Linked DNA regions of Homo sapiens: all the other regions are linked to region 1. Evidence: promoter capture Hi-C in 16 types of primary human blood cells and fetal thymus (Javierre and others, 2016). All regions are on one chromosome and are shown on one strand. Each heading gives the region's core, a stretch centred on a gene start or on the middle of the fragment in contact. The rest is flanking DNA. Distances are from core to core; before and after follow the strand shown. Region 1 holds the start of WRAP73 (WD repeat containing, antisense to TP73). Region 2 overlaps LINC01134 (long intergenic non-protein coding RNA 1134). Region 3 has its middle 4.8 kb from the start of ARHGEF16. Region 4 overlaps ARHGEF16 (Rho guanine nucleotide exchange factor 16).

Region 1 (2,720 bases), core at 117-2,616:
TGTAATCTTTCTCCTTATAATTCACTGAAATTTTCATAAATGGTAAAAACAAAAAACAAACCTCTCATTTAATTGAGGAGGGGGGCACATTGAAAATATACCAAGGCTGAGATGCCATTTAAACTAATGAGGTTTTCTGTTTTGTAGCTGATGCTATTTTATGTGATTTGGAATAAAACCTCCCTGAAGAGGTAAAAAACGTAATTTGAGAGTTAAACTCTCAAAAGCTAGACAGAGCACAGGAATGTCAGGAGTGGCAAAACCTGAAAAAGCATCATGATACATCAGTCAGTTAGTACAGGTGGTGGATAAGGAAAACGAAGCCCACTTTTTACGAGGCATGTTTCTTCTTAGTGGCTTTCCAATGCCAATTGTCCCCCTCTTCTGAGGACATACATACTAGGCATCCGGGTTATCCCTCTCTTCTGAGGATATACACTACTAGGCATCCAGGTACATACACTATATGTTTTGAAGCTTAAAGTTATAGCTCTGTGATTTAAGCACCCTTCTGCCACCCATGGAACGAAGACCTCAAATCCCAGCCATGAGGACAACTACTTCCTTACCTGGGGATAGAATACTAGTATTTAAATCATTTATTCGGCATGTGGTAGAGGAGAAGAGAATTAGAGGAGAAGTAGAGATGACAAAGTAGCCACACCACTTACCAGTTTACAGGCAACAGAATCATCAATTTGCCTTTTGTGACAAAGTAACAACAAAGAGCCGACATCTCCTATACCCTCACCTGTGTGCAGTCGGCACTGCCGATACCCACCTTTCCAAGGGCACCTCCCCAGACCCCCCACCTGTCTACGGTATCTTCCTGGGTCCCGCACCTGCCCGGGCACCTGCCGGGGTCCTGCACCTGTCCGGCCCCCATATCTGCTTGGGGTACCTGCCTGGGCCCCGCACCTGCTTGGGGTACCTGCCTGGGCCCCGCACCTGCTTGGGGCACCTCCCCGGGCCCTCCACCTGTCTAGGGTATCTTCCTGGGTCCCGCACCTGTCTGGGGCACTTGCTCAGACACTGCACCTGCCCCGGGTACCTGCCCGGGCCCCGCACCTGTCCGGGCACCGCACCTGCAGGATCCCCAAGCTGCCTCCACCCACGCGGCCGCCCCCGGCCCTGCCCGCCGGGGACGCTGGCACCGAGGATGTCCTGCCCGTGGCCCAGGTCCCCGCCGCTCACCAGGTACTTGCCGTCCGGGGAGAACTTGCAGAGTAAGCTGGAGAGCTTGAATACCTCGGAGAAGTTCATGGCCGCCGCCTGCCGCGGGCGCCACCCTGCGCCCGAAAACCCGCGGGACCCCTGGGCGCGCAGCAGGCTGCAACAGCCGACGCCGGCCTCCGAGGCCGGAAGTCAGAAGGCGGAAGTGAACTGCAGCCTATCAGCGCCGCCGGCTTCCGCGCGGCATTGTGGGGCTTGTAGTTCTTGTGCCGCAGGGCTTTAAAGGAAACGCCCACGTTTCTTCCGACCAGGGATTTCCGACCCGAGAACCTTACCTCAAAGGCCGGGAGGCCTTTGAGCACCTCCAGCTAGGGCTGCTGATAAAAATGTAGAAAGCACAGTAAAATTTGAATTTCAGATTCACAACAAATCTAGTTATAAGTATGTTCCCAAATATTGCACGGGACATGCTAATACGGAAAAATTACTCGCTAGTCTGAAATTCAAATTTAATTGAGCGACCTGTGTGTCTGCGTGTGTGTACACATGCATATATATATATTTATATTTATATGTAAATGTATGTTTACATGTAAATATATGTTTACCTACAAATATATCTTTAATAAGTAATACGGTGTCTGTCGCACATATATTATATCGTGTATGTAATGTATAAGTATTTATTTCGTTTGCTTGGGGTTTTGTTTGCTTTTGCTGAGTCCGACCCCTCTACCTGCCGCCTGGCCCTTGCCTCACGCTCCAGTGCCACTGAGATCAAGGAGAGAACGAATTTGCCGCTGACTGGGCAGAGCGAGCGCGTGGATCGCGGCCACCGCCCGTTCATCACCCGCGCGCATCTGGGCTGGCACCGGGCGAAGAATCGTGCGGGTCTGGGACCTGGGGGCCCAGAGGGAGCGAGCTCCTGCGCGGGCGCTCGGTCCGCAGGTTTCGCAGGCTCAGGGGCGTGCCTCGTTCTCACCCCCACTCCGGACCCCGGTCCTCTTCCCTAGACAGCGGCCCCCTCCACCCCTGGCTCCCGCAGGCCGCTAGTAGTCCGCGCCAGGCCCCGCCGGCGCCTCTAGGGCCCCCCAGATCGCGCAGACCCTGACATCCCCGCCTGGCCCTGGGTTCTGGGAGCTGAGAGCCGGCCAGGGTCCTGCTCGTACCTCCGGGCGCCCAGCCTCGGGTCTGCTCCCCGCGGACGCCCCAACCTCCCCGGCCGAATGGATGGTGGTGCGCGCGCGTCCTACTCCGGCGGTGCCGGCCTTTTCTGTTGCCAAAACTAGACCCAAACCTCTGCATGGGATTCGTCTTTGGGTCCCCACCCCGTGCGCCCAGCAAACAGTGGGTGAGCCATGAAGATGTGCGAGTCAGCCGGACCCTCCCCGTCAGGCGCGGACCCGCTGCGGCCAGAGAACCCAGTCTGCGCCAGCCCGGCTCGCTCGCGAAGCCACGGGCTTCACTGACGCGACTTTCCAAGACGTGGGGGTCACCATGGGCAGAGGACATCGGTTCGGAGCCAGATCACGGGCCCCATAAGCATC
Region 2 (2,720 bases), core at 96-2,595, 250 kb after region 1:
CTCCACTCTCTTTAGAAGTGTGACGTTTGGTAATTAGGTGGAGCCCTCAAATTAGACTGCACGTGGGGTTTTGCTTTCGGCAGTGAGTGAAGATGCTTGCAGCCCTGGTGTACACACACACACACATGTCCTACCTGGCTGTTGTACCCTCTCTCTTCCTAGCCCTGCGCTTCTCCCGTGTTATTATCCATGTTGTACAGAAGGGGAGGAGACAAATGTGTAACTGGCAGGAAATGCGTTTGAAATGGAAACTTAATATAATCGCTGCCAGCTGTTCAGAAAAAAATGAGAGCGAGCGATACTTTGTTAAACACCTAGCCTGTCCCATTTTCGCAGAGATTGATTTCATAATAAGCTTGGTTCAGTGGTTTTATTTCCCAGTCCTTGGGAGCTCAAAGTTTTCATCCACTGGGGCTTGGCTGGTGTTTGCCTGTCTTGTTTGTGGTTGGTGCCAGTTGATGTAAATGCCTCACTGCCTGGCCTCGCCCGCCCGATGGGGGCTCTGGGCTCCGAGCCATGTGGACTTTTAACATCCCAAAGGGCACTCTCCTTCCCTTCACCAATGTTGTCTGTCCTCTCCCCAGGTCTGGGATGAGCATGGTTTCCAGCCTCCCAGCTGTAAGGCCTGACACCCAGGCCATTGGTGAATGTCTCTCTCTCCCTGCCCACATCCTGTCAGATGCCGGTTGCTGTTAATTCTAGACTTTGAAGCCTCACGGCTGGTCTCTCCTTTTCCTCTGGCCTGGGCAGCCCACAGCTGTTGGGGTGATCCCCTGCTTCTGGGATCCAGAGCCACAGTCTTAGAGTGGCCTGTAAGTCCTGGCATGGTGCCTGGCACACTGTGGGTGCCCAGCAGGTGTTTGTCCAATGAATGTGCGGAAGGGCTTCTGAGCTTGCTCACCGTTGCCGCTCCCTGCTCCAGCCGCACAGAGTCCCAGCACCTGTTCCCCTGCCCCTCTGCTATCCACAGTGCCTCCCTCAGCTCCTGACCACTGCAAAGCCTCTTCCCCACTTCCCTGTGCCTGAAAACCTTCTTTCCCCAGCTCCCCAACCCACGTTTTGCCTGGCTAATCCATTTGTTAAACCTCAACTCAGCTTATATCTCCTGTCCTCAGGGGGCCCTTCCTGGATGCTCCCCCGCCCCCTACATTCAATCTGCCGGTTGCTGCTTTTTTAGTGTTCTGCACTCTTCTACCAGGACCCCGTGGCAGGCCAGGACCGTTTCTCCGGTGCTATCCCAGAGCATGGCGCATCCACTCATTCACTCAAGGTATCAAGCTCCACTGTGTTCTGGGGACTGGGCCAGGCGCAAGCCCAGGCATGGAATCATCACACAGAATTGTACGTTTGCAGTGTGATGGGAGCCACGGGGGAGAGGCCACATGGGCAACAGCACAGAGCTGGGGGTGTCGGGTGAGGATCCTGGGAGGAAGTGGCTGGGGCCCCCTCTCCCTCCCTCATCCTGTAGGATGCAGGCCCCTTTCAGGCCCACCCGGGGGAAACAGAGCCTCCTAGTCAAGGCTGGATGTGCAGTGGAGCCCTGTCTGGACAGGCTACCCCTCCTGACGAGGTGGGAGGTGTTGGCGTGGGCAGAGGAGCCAATCTTGAATTCTCTCCCCCGCTCCACCTCAAGCTGCCATGTGGAATTGCAGGAGACCCTGGAGGGAGCAGAAAACCAGGCTCGGCCGAAGCCACCTCCACACCACGGTTTCCTGGGTTCCCCAAAACCAGGCTTGGCCGAAGCCACCTCCACACCACAGCTTCCCGGGTTCGCTGTGTCTGCTTCTGTTCTTATTCCTGATTAGCTGTGCCCCCACCCGGCCAGGTCAGGGCACAGTGAGACTCCCCATGGTGGCAGGCGTGTGAAGTCTGTGCAGGCTTGTACGTGGCTGGCCCCCCACCTGAACTGTACGCCCCTGGAAGGCAGGGTCCGTGTTTTGTTCACGGAGGCTGGTGATACCCAGAGGACATTGGCTGGCTGGCTGGCTGGCCGGGGGCGAGACGCACACAGAGAACTTGAGGATTGTGGATTGGAGGAAACTTTGCATTCTTGCCCATACCACAAATTTCTGACTTAAAACACTGCTGTGCCCCAGTTCAGTATTTGCCTTTGACAAACACTGTAGGGCCAGTGAGAAAGTTGAAGAGATTTTTCAACTGACTAGCAGTCGGTAGACCCGTTAACTGAGGCCACCCCGGCCAGAGCACATTGCATTCCTGCCAACAGATGGTGGCCTGTATGATGACAGGGCCTCTCTTGCATATGGCCTTTTATAATTAAAAGAAAGAAGTAATAGGTAGAAAGAGAGAGAGAGAGGGAGAAGGCAGGGGAAAAAAAGCTTGCAGCATGCTTTTAAAATGTCATCGCACCACTGCACTCCAGCCTGGGTGACAGAGTGAAACTTTGTCAAAAAAAAAAAAAAAGTTCTCTTTGAATTGACCTAAACTAATGTTTTCTTAATAGCCCACCCTCTCCTATCCTCTCGGTCCACCCGACTTAGCTGGGCAAAAATAACCCTGTGGTAGGACAGCCGTCTGCTGTTGGAAAGTATCGCAGCTCCTCCCGTGTCTGCCCCGTGCACATGTGCCAAGGTCCTGCCTTGAATGAAGGACACAGCGGAGAAGGATGTAGGCTCTGAGCCTGCTAGGGTGCCTGAGAGACTCACAGGACTACCCCTGGGGCAGTTGGAAGATGCCCAGAAACTTCAGGGAGCCACCAG
Region 3 (2,720 bases), core at 92-2,591, 200 kb before region 1:
AGTGGCTCACACCTGTAATCCCAGCCCTTTGGGAGGCCAAGGCGGGCAGATCACAAGGTCAAGAGTTCAAGACCAGCCTGGCCAAAATGGTGAAACCCCATCTCTACTAAAAAGATACAAAAATTAGCCAGGCATGGTGGTGTGTGCTTGTAGTCCCAGCTACTGGGGAGGCTGAGGCAGGAGGATCACTTGAACCCAAGAAGTGGAGGTTGCAGTGAGCTGAGATCGTGCCACTACACTCCAGTCTGGGCGACAGAGTGAGACTCCATTTAAAAAAAAAAAAAAAAAAGGAATGTTTTGAAGCACAGAAAAAAAGCCTCTCACATTTATTGACATATTTGCCATTTCCAGTGGGTTTCTACTCCTTGTGCAGACCTGAATTTATATCTGGTATCATTTTCCTTTCGCCTGAAAAAATTCCTGTGACATTTCTTATAGTGTGGGTCTACTGGTGATGAATTTTCTCAGCGTTTGCCTTAACATGTCTTTATTTTCCTTTCATTTTTGAAGGATATTTTCAAGAGAAATGGACATCTTGGTTGACAGTTTTGTTTTCTTTCAGCACTTTAAAGATGTTGTTGTAGTTCTCTCAGCTTTCAGTGTTTCTGATGACAAGCCAGCAGTTATTTTGGTCTTTATTCCCTTACGATTTTTCCCTCTGTCACTGGTTTTCAGCCATTTCATTATGAGGTACCTTGGTGTGGTCTGCTTTGTACGTATGCTGCCTTGACATCTTTGTACTTATTCTACTTCATTTTAAGGTCCTTGATTCTGTGGATCTATGAGTTTTTATTACATCTGAAAAATTTTCAGCCATTCTTCCTTTTTTTTTTTTTTTAATAAGACAGAGTCTTGGTCTGTCACCCAGGCTGGAGTACAGTGGTTCAATCACAGCTCACTGGAGCCTCGACCTCCCTGGGCTCAAGCAATCCTCCCACCTCAGCCTCCCAAGTAGCTGGGACTATAGGCATGCACCACCATGCCTGGCTAATTTTTGTACTTTTAGTAGAGACAGGGTTTCACCATGTTGCCCAGGCTTGTCTCGAACTTCTGGCCTCAAGTGATCCGCCCGCCTCAGTCATGCAAAGTTCTGGGATTACAGGCGTGAGCCACTGTACCCAGCCATTGCTTTAAACATATGTTCTTCCCTCCCCACTCCCTCCTTTCTGGTCCTCCAGTTACACATATTGTTAGACTGCCTGATGCCTGATACCGTCTCAAGGTGGGCAAGGCTCGGTTTCTGCCTTTTCCCTAGGTTTTTCCTCTGCGTGCTTCAGTCTGAGTAACTTGTCCTGGCTTCAAGTTTACTGATTGTTTTCCTCTGTAGTTTCATCTGCTGTTAATCTCATCCAATAGATTTTTTGTTTCCTACACTGTATATTTTCATCTTTAGGATTTCCATTTGATTCATTATTATACTTTCCATCTCTCCTTTGACTGTGATCATCGTTTCCTATAAATCCTTGGGTGGTGTGTGTGTATATATTATATATATGTGTGTGTGTGTATATGTGTGTCCGTGTGTGTCCGCGTGTGTGTGTGTGTGTGTGTGTGTGTATAGAGAGAGAGAGACAGGGTCTGGCTCTGTTGCCCAGGCTGGAGGGCAGTGGTGCGAGCTCAGCTCACTGCAGCCTCCAAATCCTGGGCTCAAGTGATCCTCCCACCCCAGTCTCCTGAGTAGCTCACCTAGCTAATTTTTTGTATTTTTTGTAGAGATGGGGTTTCACCACGTTGCCCAGGCTGGTCTTGAACTCCTGGACTCAAGCAACTCACCATCTCAGCCTTCCCAAGTGCTGGGATTACAGGCATGCGGCACCATGCCCAGCTGATCCTTTGGGGTATTTTTGATTGTTGTTTTAAATGCCTTCTCTGCGAATCCTGTCATCCGTGTCATTTCTGGGTCTGCTTCTACTGACTGATTTTTTTCCTAGTTATTTGTCACAGGTTCCTGTTCCTGCTTCTTCACATGTCTAGTAATTTTGCATTGGGTGCTGGAGGTCGTAAATGTGTAATTTTGCATTGGGTGCTGGAGGTCGTAAATGTGTAATTTTGCATTGGGTGCTGGAGGTCGTAAATGTGTAATTTTGCATTGGGTGCTGGAGGTTGTAAATGTGTAATTTTGCATTGGGTGCTGGAGGTCGTAAATGTCAAATTGTTTGAGTTTCTGGATTTTACTGGCCTTCTTTTCAAGCATGTTGAGTGTTATGCTGATGCACAGTTAACGTACTTGTGGATCAGCCTGGTCCTCTCAGGACTTGCTTTGAACTTCTGTTAGGTCATGTCTAGAGGAGCTGTCACCCTAGGATTACTTCAGCCCTTCACCTAGGACATGGCCTTCTTTGGTATCTACTGAATATTCTGGGTGGTCAGGATTTTTTCCCTCTGTCCCTGGTTTTCAGCCATTTCATTATGAGGTACTGTGGTGGGGTCTGCTTTGTACGTATGCTGCTTTGACTTCTTTGGACTTATTCTCCATTGCTTTGAGGTTCTTGGATCTGTGGATCTACAAGTTTTTATCACATTTGGAAATTTTTCAGACATTCTTTTTTTGAGACAGAGTCTTGGTACAGTGGCTGGAGTACACTGGCTCGATCATAGCTCACTGGAGACTCGTCCTCCCCAGGCTCAAGCGATCCTCCCACCTCAGACTCCCAAGCGGCTGAGGTCAACGAGGGATAGTCAGCGACGGTGCTTCCTTCCTGGTGGCTGACGTTCCAGCG
Region 4 (2,720 bases), core at 69-2,568, 170 kb before region 1:
GGCGCTGACAGGGAAACTGAGGCCCAGAGGTTCCCAGATTATCCATCCCAGGCCTTTCACGGCGCTGACAGGGAAACTGAGGCCCAGAGGTTCCCAGATTATCCATCCCAGGCCTTTCACAGCGCTGACAGGGAAACTGAGGCCCAGAGGTTCCCAGATTATCCATCCCAGGCCTTTCACAGCGCTGACAGGGAAACTGAGGCCCAGAGGTTCCCAGATTATCCATCCCAGGCCTTTCACAGCGCTGACAGGGAAACTGAGGCCCAGAGGTTCCCAGATTATCCATCCCAGGCCTTTCACAGCGCTGACAGGGAAACTGAGGCCCAGAGGTTCCCAGATTATCCATCCCAGGCCTTTCACAGCGCTGACAGGGAAACTGAGGCCCAGAGGTTCCCAGATTATCCATCCCAGGCCTTTCACAGCGCTGACAGGGAAACTGAGGCCCAGAGGTTCCCAGATTATCCATCCCAAGCCTTTCACAGTGCTGACAGGGAAACTGAGGCCTAGAGCCAGTGGAGCTCTCACACAGTTGATGAGCCCGTGGCACGGCTGGTCCAGGGCAGGCACTGTGGGCAGCCAGAGGCTGGCTGGGCAGGTGTCCTGGGCACACTGTGGGCCGTGTGGGCTGTGCCAGGGCCCTGTAGCACCAGCCTCTCACACGGGAACCATGCCCTGCAGCTGGTGAGGCAGTGCAACGAGGGGGCCCACAGGATGGAGCGCATGGAGCAGATGTACACGCTGCACACACAGCTGGACTTCAGCAAGGTCAAGGTAGGTGGCCCCGGACATCAGGGCCACTCGGACCACTTCCCACTCAGCCCTCCCTGCTGGCCTGCGTGTGAGGTCACACCCCTGAGCCTGAGGGCTGGAGAGTGGGTGCCTGCCCTCATGAGGCCTGGGGGCTGGGCCTCCTAGGGCTGGTGGCTCTGGTCTCTCCAGGCCTCAGTCTCCCGATCTGGGAGCGCCCCTTGTGGACCCCTCCCCTAATCCCACTGGGTGGGCCTCTGTGGCCCTTGCCCCATCCCCAGGACTGCACCGGCAAAGGGTAGACCCTAGGCCCTGAGTGACCAAGCCCAGGGGGCAACAGGAGTGGCCCTGTCAGTGCACTTGCCTGGGGCCAGCGCTCCTTGCTGGCCCCTCAGGGGCTGGGCAGGGCCTGAGGACAGAGCGGAGGGGACAGGGTGATTTCAGGGCCAGCCCAGATTCCATGTTTCCCAGTGAGGCTTGGATTCTGGGTAGGGTGAAATATTTCCAGCCCAGGCCCGGGCAGCCCTAGTCCCTGCCACAAACGGGCAGGGCTCATACCTCTCCCTCCAGAGCCCCCCACCCACGATCCCACACACTGGCCGCATCCTCTGTTGTCCTGGGACAGCCCAGGGCCCCTCCCCTAAGGCGGGCCCAGGTGGGTCTCCTGTCCTGGTGCCCCATCCAGGGGGTGTCCTTCAGGGTGGAGCAAGAAGTGGGTGACAGGCCACCAGCCACCCTCACTCAGGGCCACGGACAACCAAGTAAGGGTGCGGGGTCCCAGCTGGGGGAGGGGGCTCCCGGGGTGGGTCAGGGCGGGCTGCCTGGGGCAGGCGTCAGGGCGGTGACTTCGCGCCGCTGTCGCTGAGCCCACACCCGTGCAGCCCTCACGCTTGTCTCCCTGATCCTCTCGAGTCTGGGGTGTAACGCCTGCCCCTGCCAGAGCAAGGACCCCCTCCCAGGCCTGGTCCACCCCTGAGTGGGGCTCTCACCCCCACATGGTCTTGAAGTTGGTCTTGGAAACGGGTGTGGGGGTGGGGAGAACAGGCCCATCCAGGAGGGAGGGTGGTGGCAGAGGCCGGGAGCGGGAGGTGCCGGGGGCTCTGAGTCTGTAGTGGGCACAGGTGGGGAAGCCGGGGCCCACAGGGAGCAGGTGAGGAGGTGTCAACAGTCGCTGAGGAGCGGGAGCTGGTGGGCAGGCTCCTCATTCCCACTCTGCCCTCCCCCCCACCCTGTACTGCCACCCCCTACTGCGACACCCATCCCCGTCACCCCCACACTACCCACCCCATCACCCCCACACTGCCCACCCTCTGGCCTTTGCCATCCTTCTGCCCCCCACTGACTCCAGCAACTCAGCACCAGGCAGCAGGGAGGATGTTCTGTGGCTCAGGAGCCAGGAAAGGCCCCAGACGTGGAGCGTGGCCATCACGGGTGGGCCTGCCCCTGCCAACCCTCCCTCGGGGCTGAGCAGGTCCTTGTGCCTAGGAGGCCCAGCGTCTGCGTAATTGCCACGGAGGGGTGAGGTGTGTGTGGAGGCTTCCCCAGCACTGGCCTTCGAGTCCTGGCTTGGGTGAAATGTTCAGTGGTCACCCAGCCCTGGGCTATCGGGCAGGGTCTGGTCCGGCCTGGCGCACCTCGATTTGAGGCCCGGACACATTGTGCCCCTTTCCTCTGTCCAGCCCCGACTGAGGGCAGCCAGCTGGTCACCCAGTCCAGAGGCAGGAGTCAGTCCCACCTGGTGCTATGCGTCCTTGACCCCCTGGGGACCTGCTCACCCCGGCTCTGTCCCCCCCAGTCCCTCGCACTGATCTCCGCCTCCCGGCTCTGTCCCCCCAGTCCCTCCCACTGATCTCTGCCTCCCGGTGGCTGCTGAAGCGCGGAGAGCTGTTCTTAGTGGAAGAAACCGGACTTTTTCGAAAAATTGCCAGCCGGCCAACGTGCTACCTTTTCCTGTTCAACGATGTCCTGGTTGT

What was found. Contacts are between HindIII fragments. The CHiCAGO score rates a contact against its expected background, and 5 or more counts as called.
Region 2: a fragment that was not itself captured here is called in contact with the fragment with the promoter of WRAP73 in region 1 in 1 of 17 cell types (neutrophils); the score reaches 11.8 in neutrophils.
Region 3: a fragment that was not itself captured here is called in contact with the fragment with the promoter of WRAP73 in region 1 in 6 of 17 cell types (naive CD4 T cells, non-activated CD4 T cells, naive CD8 T cells and 3 more); the score reaches 7.8 in naive CD4 T cells.
Region 4: a contact is called between a fragment that was not itself captured here and the fragment with the promoter of WRAP73 in region 1, in 1 of 17 cell types (neutrophils). The highest score is 5.0, in neutrophils.

The regions. Positions count from the first base shown.
Region 1 is chr1:3,648,737-3,651,456 of GRCh38, forward strand. WRAP73 (WD repeat containing, antisense to TP73) reads right to left here and starts at 1,367. Exons shown (of 12, transcript NM_017818.4): 1 at 1,195-1,367. The coding sequence starts at 1,263. RefSeq lists an enhancer at 1,588-2,431. The HindIII fragment of the contact is 11,564 bases long and covers 476-2,720 here.
Region 2 is chr1:3,902,767-3,905,486 of GRCh38, forward strand. LINC01134 (long intergenic non-protein coding RNA 1134) reads left to right here. Exons shown (of 4, transcript NR_024455.1): 2 at 1,199-1,270. Among named protein-coding and RNA genes, the nearest start is that of LINC01134, 3.7 kb to the left of the region's middle. The HindIII fragment of the contact is 1,984 bases long and covers 354-2,337 here.
Region 3 is chr1:3,448,482-3,451,201 of GRCh38, forward strand. No RefSeq gene overlaps it. Among named protein-coding and RNA genes, the nearest start is that of ARHGEF16, 4.8 kb to the right of the region's middle. The HindIII fragment of the contact is 5,295 bases long and covers 1-2,720 here.
Region 4 is chr1:3,475,292-3,478,011 of GRCh38, forward strand. It overlaps ARHGEF16 (Rho guanine nucleotide exchange factor 16), which reads left to right. Exons shown (of 15, transcript NM_014448.4): 10 at 679-771; 11 at 2,584-2,720. Among named protein-coding and RNA genes, the nearest start is that of ARHGEF16, 22 kb to the left of the region's middle. The HindIII fragment of the contact is 4,576 bases long and covers 1-2,720 here.